2 separate regions of the Homo sapiens genome follow, and region 1 is linked to region 2. Evidence: promoter capture Hi-C in human tissues and cell types (Jung and others, 2019). All regions are on one chromosome and are shown on one strand. Each heading gives the region's core, a stretch centred on a gene start or on the middle of the fragment in contact. The rest is flanking DNA. Distances are from core to core; before and after follow the strand shown.

Region 1 (3,844 bases), core at 823-3,322, 95 kb before region 2:
TTCACCTCATTGTTGGAATTTCTAGCTAATTACTATTTTCCATCACATATTAGGTGGTAATTAAGATCTTGGCATCTGTCTTCAAATCTCAGCTCTGTCCCTTCTTAGCTATGTGACCCTCAGCAAACGACTTTTCTCTAGCTTCAGTTTTCTCATTTCCAAAATGAGAATAATCATCCACATAACTACTGTCAACATTAAATGAGGTAATATAAGTAAACCACTTAGTACAATGCCTGACCCATAGTAAGTGCTCCATAAATGTTAGCTGATATTATCATATTATCATCTGTAAAATGGAGACCAATTCACACACCCTTAAGATTGAAAAGAAGTAAAATGACACATACAATGCCTAGGTACACAGGAGGCACTCAAATGGTAGATGTTACCCCTTACACTCTTTGGGAACTCCATATCATTCAGTATCAAACTGAGTATGAAATGGTACAGTGCAGCAATTAACGCTATGAAGCTGGATTTCCTGAGTTCAAATCCTGGCTCTGCCACTTAATACCTGTGTGATCTTGGGCAATTTATTTCCCTTACTGTGTCTTTCTATTTTCATCTGTAAAATGGGAAAAATAATAAGTATCTATCTTACTGGGTTGTTATGGGGATAAGACAAGCCCTCTTTTAAGTGCTTTACATATAAAGTCCTAAAAATAAAACCTGGAACATAAGTGCTATATAAATATTAACTATTATTATCTTAATAACAGAGGTACACATGCTTTGAGGCTGCTGCACATCAAAGAAATGAATTTGGACATAAGCAACTTAATATTTTTCTTGTATTTAAGAGAGGCCCAATGGAAATATTCATATACCCATCTTCAAAAATGGGAGGAAAAAAGGCTGAAGGAATAGCAAATTACAACACAGGAACTATATAACTACTAAGTAAATGTGACCTCATCCATCCAGAAACAGGTATGAAGGAAATGTATTTTCTAGCTCCGCCTTAACCATGTAATCACTCAGATAAAGGAGTCCTACATTCCAGAGAGATAGAGGAAAATGATTTTTCTTGCTCTTACCTTACAACAAACTGATAACCAACACAGCTAACCTTTGTGCGTTCTCACATAATTTTTAAGTGAAGAAAACATCTCTTAGGACAAAATAATCAATTCTGGAAGCTTTCTTAGAAATGCCTTCCTGCCTTATACTAGTCTTTTCTTCCCATACTCCACAAACTTCATCCCTGGGCAAGTCAGAAGAGGTATCTAAAGACGCAAAAATGCAAGCAAGTAAACATTCTTTAGAACTGAAAGGAAATCCTATGCTTGTTCTTACTTAGAAAGTTATGGAGTTAATCCTGTGGACTGGCTTATGTTGCTGACTTACAAAGCAAACAAAATACTAAATTGTATAAGCAACAAATAAAATCAGTGAATTGTAATTTATCTGTCTAAGAGTCTGTGCCTCCTACCAGACTGTAACTTCTCGAAAAAATACTTTATTCATCACCAGCATCTAGCACATTGCCTGGCACACACAGAAGGTGTTCAATAAGTGTTGACTGAATACAGTCAGAGAGCACCTCCTCCTTGTACAAGGTACTGTTAGGTGGCAGACAGCCAATAATGGTTCACTTAGGTTGATGTCAAAGATTTCTGTTTGAAATTTAAATAAAGCCAGGTCTGGCTAAAGAGCTGCAGCTGTAGTTGTACCTGCTCTCAACCCAGATTTATTCCCAATAGCAAGGCTACCCTCTTCTGCATGCCTGCTGATATTTCTCTCAAATGATGAGAAGCCACTTCCCATGTGGCCCTAGTGTGTAATTCTTTCTGCTCAACAAAGGAGGCAGTCTAGAATCTTTGGTCATAAAAATATGATGGTTAGCAACAGGAAGCAACTGCTGGGCAAGCCTGGTACACTTCCAAATGAAATCTTTCCATCTAGAATTCTCAATTGAAGGTGCCAAACTCAATCCAGAACATCTGGATTTGCTCCTCTGGCTTCAAGCGTTCTCCAAGAGAGGCTAGGAAAAAGTACGCTCTTGCCGGTACGTGTAGGTGTAATTGTATACTCAAATATTGTACTTTGGATAAGAGTCCAAGACTTGGCAAATGGATGGAATGTAGCACATGGAACTGCCTGAATAGATACCCACGCTAAGAGAAGGGTTTTCTTGCAAAATATAAACAGGCAAGGTGTGAATTGCCCCTCTGTGTCACAAGTTAGAAGAATTCACCCAGGAGAATAAGTTCTTAGGAATCAGTGGGGGAATAATGCTCAGAAGCATGTGACAGGCAAAACAGCACCATTCCCTAGGAAAACGGCAAATTTATCAAACAATAACTCTTTACTTCTCCTACCCCAATAAGATAAATATATGTGATTATAATTTGATCCATACAGAAAAAAATATTGAGCTGCAAACTCTGGCAAACAGACAGTGCTGAAATTAAACATTATGAGCTTTGGCAGCTGCACTATGTACTCTCAGATTCTTACATCATTACTCTGGTAAGGGCCCCGTACCAAGCTGGCATAGTTCTGATGTGGTCTGGAGGGAGACTTTCTTGCCTTTTATTTAAAAAAAAAAATGACCTACATATAGCCTCTTTTCATGCCACAGGGAAATAAATATTTTCCTTTCCTCCAGATTTTGTTTTAAATGACAAAGCCATACTGCCAAGTTATTAAGAAAGTGTTAGAAATTATTATGAGATTTTTAAAGGCCACTTAGTACAAGCTCTAAAAAGACTTCTAAAACAGTAGACTTCAAAAACAGGATCTCTCCTAAAGTAGTGATAATCCATTTGTGGCAATAAAGAATCAGTTTATAGAGTGATGATTACTTTCTTGTTTATATTCTGACATTGGAAGTTTAAGTATCCAGATCCTCAGTAACCTCAAATGCAAAATGAAATAGTAATGTCACCGTTTGGGACAGTTCTTCTCACAATATCAGATATATGGCAAGTCCTCAGTAAGTACTAGACAAACTTATGAACGATAGAACCTTTAAAATTCGTGACTAGAGCAATCATATACTTAACAGAGCTAAGTGGTTACCTTTACTTCACTCATATTCAAGACTGAAAAGAATTTACACATAAGCTAGTTTCAAGATCAAAACTGCGTTTGTCCCTTTCAACAACTGATACCACACAAACAAGACTTCATTCTCTATTTCCCTCCAGTGGCATCCAAGAAAAACATAAAAATTCCAAATCTCAAAAATAACAGGTTAAAGAAGAAAAAAAAAGGCCTTAGTGCTCATAAACTAGATATATAATTTGACATGTTTAGAGTGATAGGATTATGTTTCCTATCATGAAATATTTCAAATTTTCATATATGGTCAAAATAGTATAGTAACTACCAAGCTTTACTTCCAAATTATTATTACTATTTCCTTTCTTCTGGAGACAGAGTCTCACTTTGTCACGCAGGTTGGAGTGTAGTGGCTTGATCTCAGCTCACTGCAGCCTCAACCTCTCATGTTCAAGTGATCCTCCTGCCTCAGCCCCACAAGTAGCTGGGACTACAGGTGGGCACCACCATACTAGCTAATTTTTGTATTTTTTTGTAGAGACGGGGTTTCATCATGTTGCCCAGGCTAGTCTCAAACTCCTGAGCTCAAGCCATCTATCTGCTTGCTTCAGCCTCCCAAAGTGCTAGGATTACAAGCATGAGCCACTATGCCCAGCCTTATTTTACCTTTTGAGATATAATTTACATATGGTAAGGTAAACAAATCTTAAGTCTGATAAAGTTTTCTCATATGTATTATATATGTTAACTACTATCCAGATCAAAATATGAGCACACATTTATTGCAGCCCACAGGATTCCCTCGTGACCTTTCTCTCCAAAACATACTTATCAT
Region 2 (3,745 bases), core at 223-2,722:
CTAATTGCTCCAGGGCGCTTTCCAAGTTCAAAAGTTCACCTTTTACGACCTCACAAAAGCTCCTAACACGTTACCAATAAAAACATTCCGCGGCAAACACCGAGGAGGAAAATATCAAACAGATACAAATAAAACACCCCGCAGGGGGAGGGAGCGAAGGGGAGGAGGGCGAGGAAGCCCCGAGGAACCTGAGGACCCGGCCCGGGCGAGGGGGCGAGGGACGAGCGGTAGGAAGGGCCGGGCCAGGTGAGGGATTCTCAGCTCCCAAGGTCCCGGATCGGGACAAGAAAGAGGAGAACTGAGACTAAGAGGTGGGGACCGGGACCTGCCGGGCAGAAGCCGGGAGGAGGCAGGTGTCCGGGGCCCCGGGGCGGGCTGGAGCCCTCGGCCAGGGAAAGCCGTTGCCTGGCGGAGAGGGGAGCTGAGCAGGGGCGGAGACCGGCCAGAGCGCGCGGGGCGTTGAGGAAGGTGAGGCGCAGGGGAAGCAGGAGGCGCGAAGGGGTCCGAAAAAGGAAACGACTGGGGGATGTCTAGCGAACGGGGGTTCGGCAGAGGTGGGGGGCTCGTAGTATTCAAGGAAGAACGCTCGAGGCTGCAGAAGAGGAAAACGCTCTAGAAAGCTGAGCGGTACAAGGGTGCTGTGGAGTCGGGTCAACAGGGCAAGAAGGGAGCGTCCTCGGTGGGAGGAGGAACCCCTGTAGGGGAAAAGAGAGGCTCTGCGTTAAGGGAACCCGAGTGAGGGGATGCCCCCACTGACGGACCGCGGTGGGGACTTCCAACCTGAGGAGCCCGGGGGGAGGGGAAGGTTCGGTGCTGGGAAGACAGGGGGAGGGGACCCGGGGGGAGGAGGGAGGATTGGTGCTGAGGGGACGGGGGGAGGGGAAGCCTGTGCAGAGGGGACGGGGGGAGGGGGAAATGAAGCTCGGTGCCCAGGGACCCGGGCAGGGGGAGGGTCCGCGCAGAAGGGAACAGGGACGAAGGAGGAGGATCCACCCTGAGCGAGACCGGGGAGGAGAGGGAGGGTCCGCGCCAACGGGGAACGGGGTGAAGGGCCACCCTAAGGGGCCGCGGGGCCGCTGCGGCTTCCCAGGGCGAGGGTCGGCAGAGAGGAGGGGGATCCCTGGCGGAGGCTCAGGAAGCCGGTTCCTGCCTGGCCCGGGCGTCGCAGGCCCCTCACCCACCGTTGCGCGGCGGCGGAGGGAGCGCGGCGGGAGGCTCCAGGAACCCCGCCGAGCCCCCGCCGCCTCCCCCTCCGCTAGGCGGCGGTTCGTCCCGCTCCATGCGGTGGTGCCTAGGGTCCGCGCCGGGTTTGTTGCTCCGCCATGACCGGCGCCCTAGTCGCCGTGGTCGTCGTCCGCCGAGGGGAGGAGGTTGTCAGGAGCCCGCGAGCTCCCGGCCGCGGCTCTCTCTGGGCCCCGAGCCGCCCGGCTCCGCGCCGCTCCGCGCCCCTCCGCGCCGCGCCCCCTCAGCACTGGCCAGCTCCCTCCCCTGACGTCACACGCCGCTGCCGCGCAAGGCCCTGCGGGGCACGCTGGAAGTTGGAGTCCGCTCAGCGAGGCCGGCCACGCCGACCGCACCAACTGAAGGGGTGGAAGGAGGGATAAGAAGTCCTGAGAAGGGAAAGCTAAAGTCTGTCAATATCAAGAACCATGACAAAGCGTTTGATGTCTATGTAGTAAGCGGATACTTCCGGGCCTTGTCTTGATTGTGATTTCTACCTGATCAAAGTTCCCTAAGAGTCCTCGTAACCCCCCACCCCAACAATGAGTCTTTGCGAGGAGGTGGATCGCGAGGCAGCCGGGTGAGCACGTGCAACGAAGCCCAGCCCTGTGGGCGGGGCCCTGGAGGCGGGGCTTGAAGGTACTCACGTGGGCCTCTCCCTGCCGCTGCGGGACAAATTGGACCGGAGATTAAAGGACCGGAGTTTAACTCGAGGTGACTGCGTTCGTATGCAAATGGAATATATAAAACTCTTCTTTCCGGGGTAGTCTTTAAAGACTTTTTACCTCCGGGTGGGCGGCAAAGACTAAAGTTTCCCCTCCTCCCCTTTCATTTTCCCCCTGCCCATAGAACAGATGGGCAAACTAAGCTCCGGGCCATTGGGGCTATTAAAGAAAGCCCTAGGCTCTTGACCCCAGGTGTCTTGAAACCTTCCGTTTAAGAGGGATCCCTTGCCCAGCCTTGTTTGCCTTCCCCTTTCCTCAGTTTCCCTATCTGTAAAAGGGGGTTGGAATAAGGACAGGATCAAGTTGGAAGATCGCAAACCCCTGCCCCTCCCACCTCAGTTTCCCGAAGCTTTCCGGAAGCAAAATCCCGAATTTTGCAGCGGCTCCCGGCCGAATCCACCCGCTGCGGCCACCAGGTGGCGCGCGGCCACCGGTCACTAGGCCCGCCGGGGTGTCCGTCTTCGGCGACCCCATCGGGAAAGGATTTCGCTGCTGCCGCCAAGGGTCTAAGGCCTACCTGGCCCACTTGAAGACAAAGAACGAGAACGTTGGTGCTTTGCCCACTTCTGCTCTGCCGGATTATGCTGCAGCTTCCTCGGTGGCCGCTCATTCGCCCTCTCCTGCCCCACCCGCCCCACCAATCCCTTAGCCCTTTTATTTTTTTTTTGCCTAATTTTAAGTCCTCGTCCTGGCATTCGCATCCCTGCTTGGCCTGACCCTTGCCCACATTTCGCACCATACCCCGTCCCTCACCTGCTACGAAAGTTGCAACGCTTCTCTGCACTTGGGGGCAACTGGACCTTACCAACCCTGGTGAAACTGTATTTCATACGTAATCTGGGAGACTTACATTAACGCTCTGCCGTCTAAACCTCATACCTGCTCTATGAGATAGCAACAATATTGTCCCTTTCCAGCACTGATGAAGTCCACCAGAAGTGATGGGGATTCCAGCTCCATTCTGTCACACACCAGAACCTTAATCCTTGGCTCCTTCAAGCTGGAACGCGGCTGACTTCACCTGACCCACTCCCAAACTCCTATTCATCTTTCAAGATCCTGTTCAAATGTTTCTTCAGTGGCATCTTCCTTAATACCTTCCACCGAGGGACAACTAGATCCCCTCTGCTAGGTAGCAGTGTTTCAGGAGCTAAACCCTGTGACTAAGAGAGGACGGCCTGCCATTCCCTCAGCTGTGGGTTCTAAAATACTTTAGGACCTTGCTGGGCGCCGTGGTTCATGCCTGTAATCCCCACACTTTGGGAGACTGAGGCGGGCGGATCACCTGAAGTCAGGAGTTCGAGACCAGCCTGACCAATATGGAGAAAACCCGTCTCTACTAAAAATACAAAATTAGCCAGGCGTGGTGGCGCATGCCAGTAATCCCAGCTACTCAGGAGGCTGGGGCAGGAGAATCGTTTGAACCCAGGAGGCGGAGACTGCGGTAAGCCGAGATGGCGCAATTGCACTCCAGCCTGGGCAACAAGAGCAAAACTCCGTCTCAAAAAAAAAAAGAAAGAAAAAAAAAGTCAGGACCATCTGGCCTTTCTCAGGAATCTACCTTTTTGTCACAGGTTCTGGTGGTAGTGAGTTCTCTGTCCCTGGAGATGCCATCAGAGCCTAAGTGGCACTGCAGAAACGTGCAGCCCTGGAGTTTTGGTAGTTGATGAAGATTCTAAGTCAACCCTCTTTAGATGGGCAGAAGAGTTCAGCCAAATGCTCAGCCCCTGGAAACAACTCCTCCAGTCCTTCAGACTACAGCTCTGTTGTCCCTTCCTTCCATAAACCTTCCCACACCT

What was found. Contacts are between HindIII fragments. The study calls those that stand out against the background at their distance.
Region 1: a contact is called between a fragment that was not itself captured here and the fragment with the promoter of NR6A1 in region 2, in 2 of the 25 tissues and cell types used here (IMR-90 fibroblasts and dorsolateral prefrontal cortex).

What each region holds. Positions count from the first base shown.
Region 1 is chr9:124,673,897-124,677,740 of GRCh38, forward strand. All of the region lies in intron 2 of NR6A1 (nuclear receptor subfamily 6 group A member 1), which reads right to left. The region is part of intron 1 of MIR181A2HG (MIR181A2 host gene); the gene reads left to right. Among named protein-coding and RNA genes, the nearest start is that of MIR181A2, 17 kb to the right of the region's middle. The HindIII fragment of the contact is 3,220 bases long and covers 463-3,682 here.
Region 2 is chr9:124,769,839-124,773,583 of GRCh38, forward strand. It overlaps NR6A1 (nuclear receptor subfamily 6 group A member 1), which reads right to left and starts at 1,473. Exons shown (of 10, transcript NM_033334.4): 1 at 1,182-1,473. The coding sequence starts at 1,281. It overlaps LOC124900274 (a long non-coding RNA gene), which reads right to left and starts at 642. Exons shown (of 2, transcript XR_007061773.1): 1 at 1-642. It overlaps LOC107987126 (a long non-coding RNA gene), which reads left to right and starts at 1,519. Exons shown (of 2, transcript XR_001746926.3): 1 at 1,519-1,935; 2 at 2,864-3,745. RefSeq lists silencers at 173-422, 963-1,542 and enhancers at 1,255-1,822, 1,613-1,872. The HindIII fragment of the contact is 6,332 bases long and covers 1-3,691 here.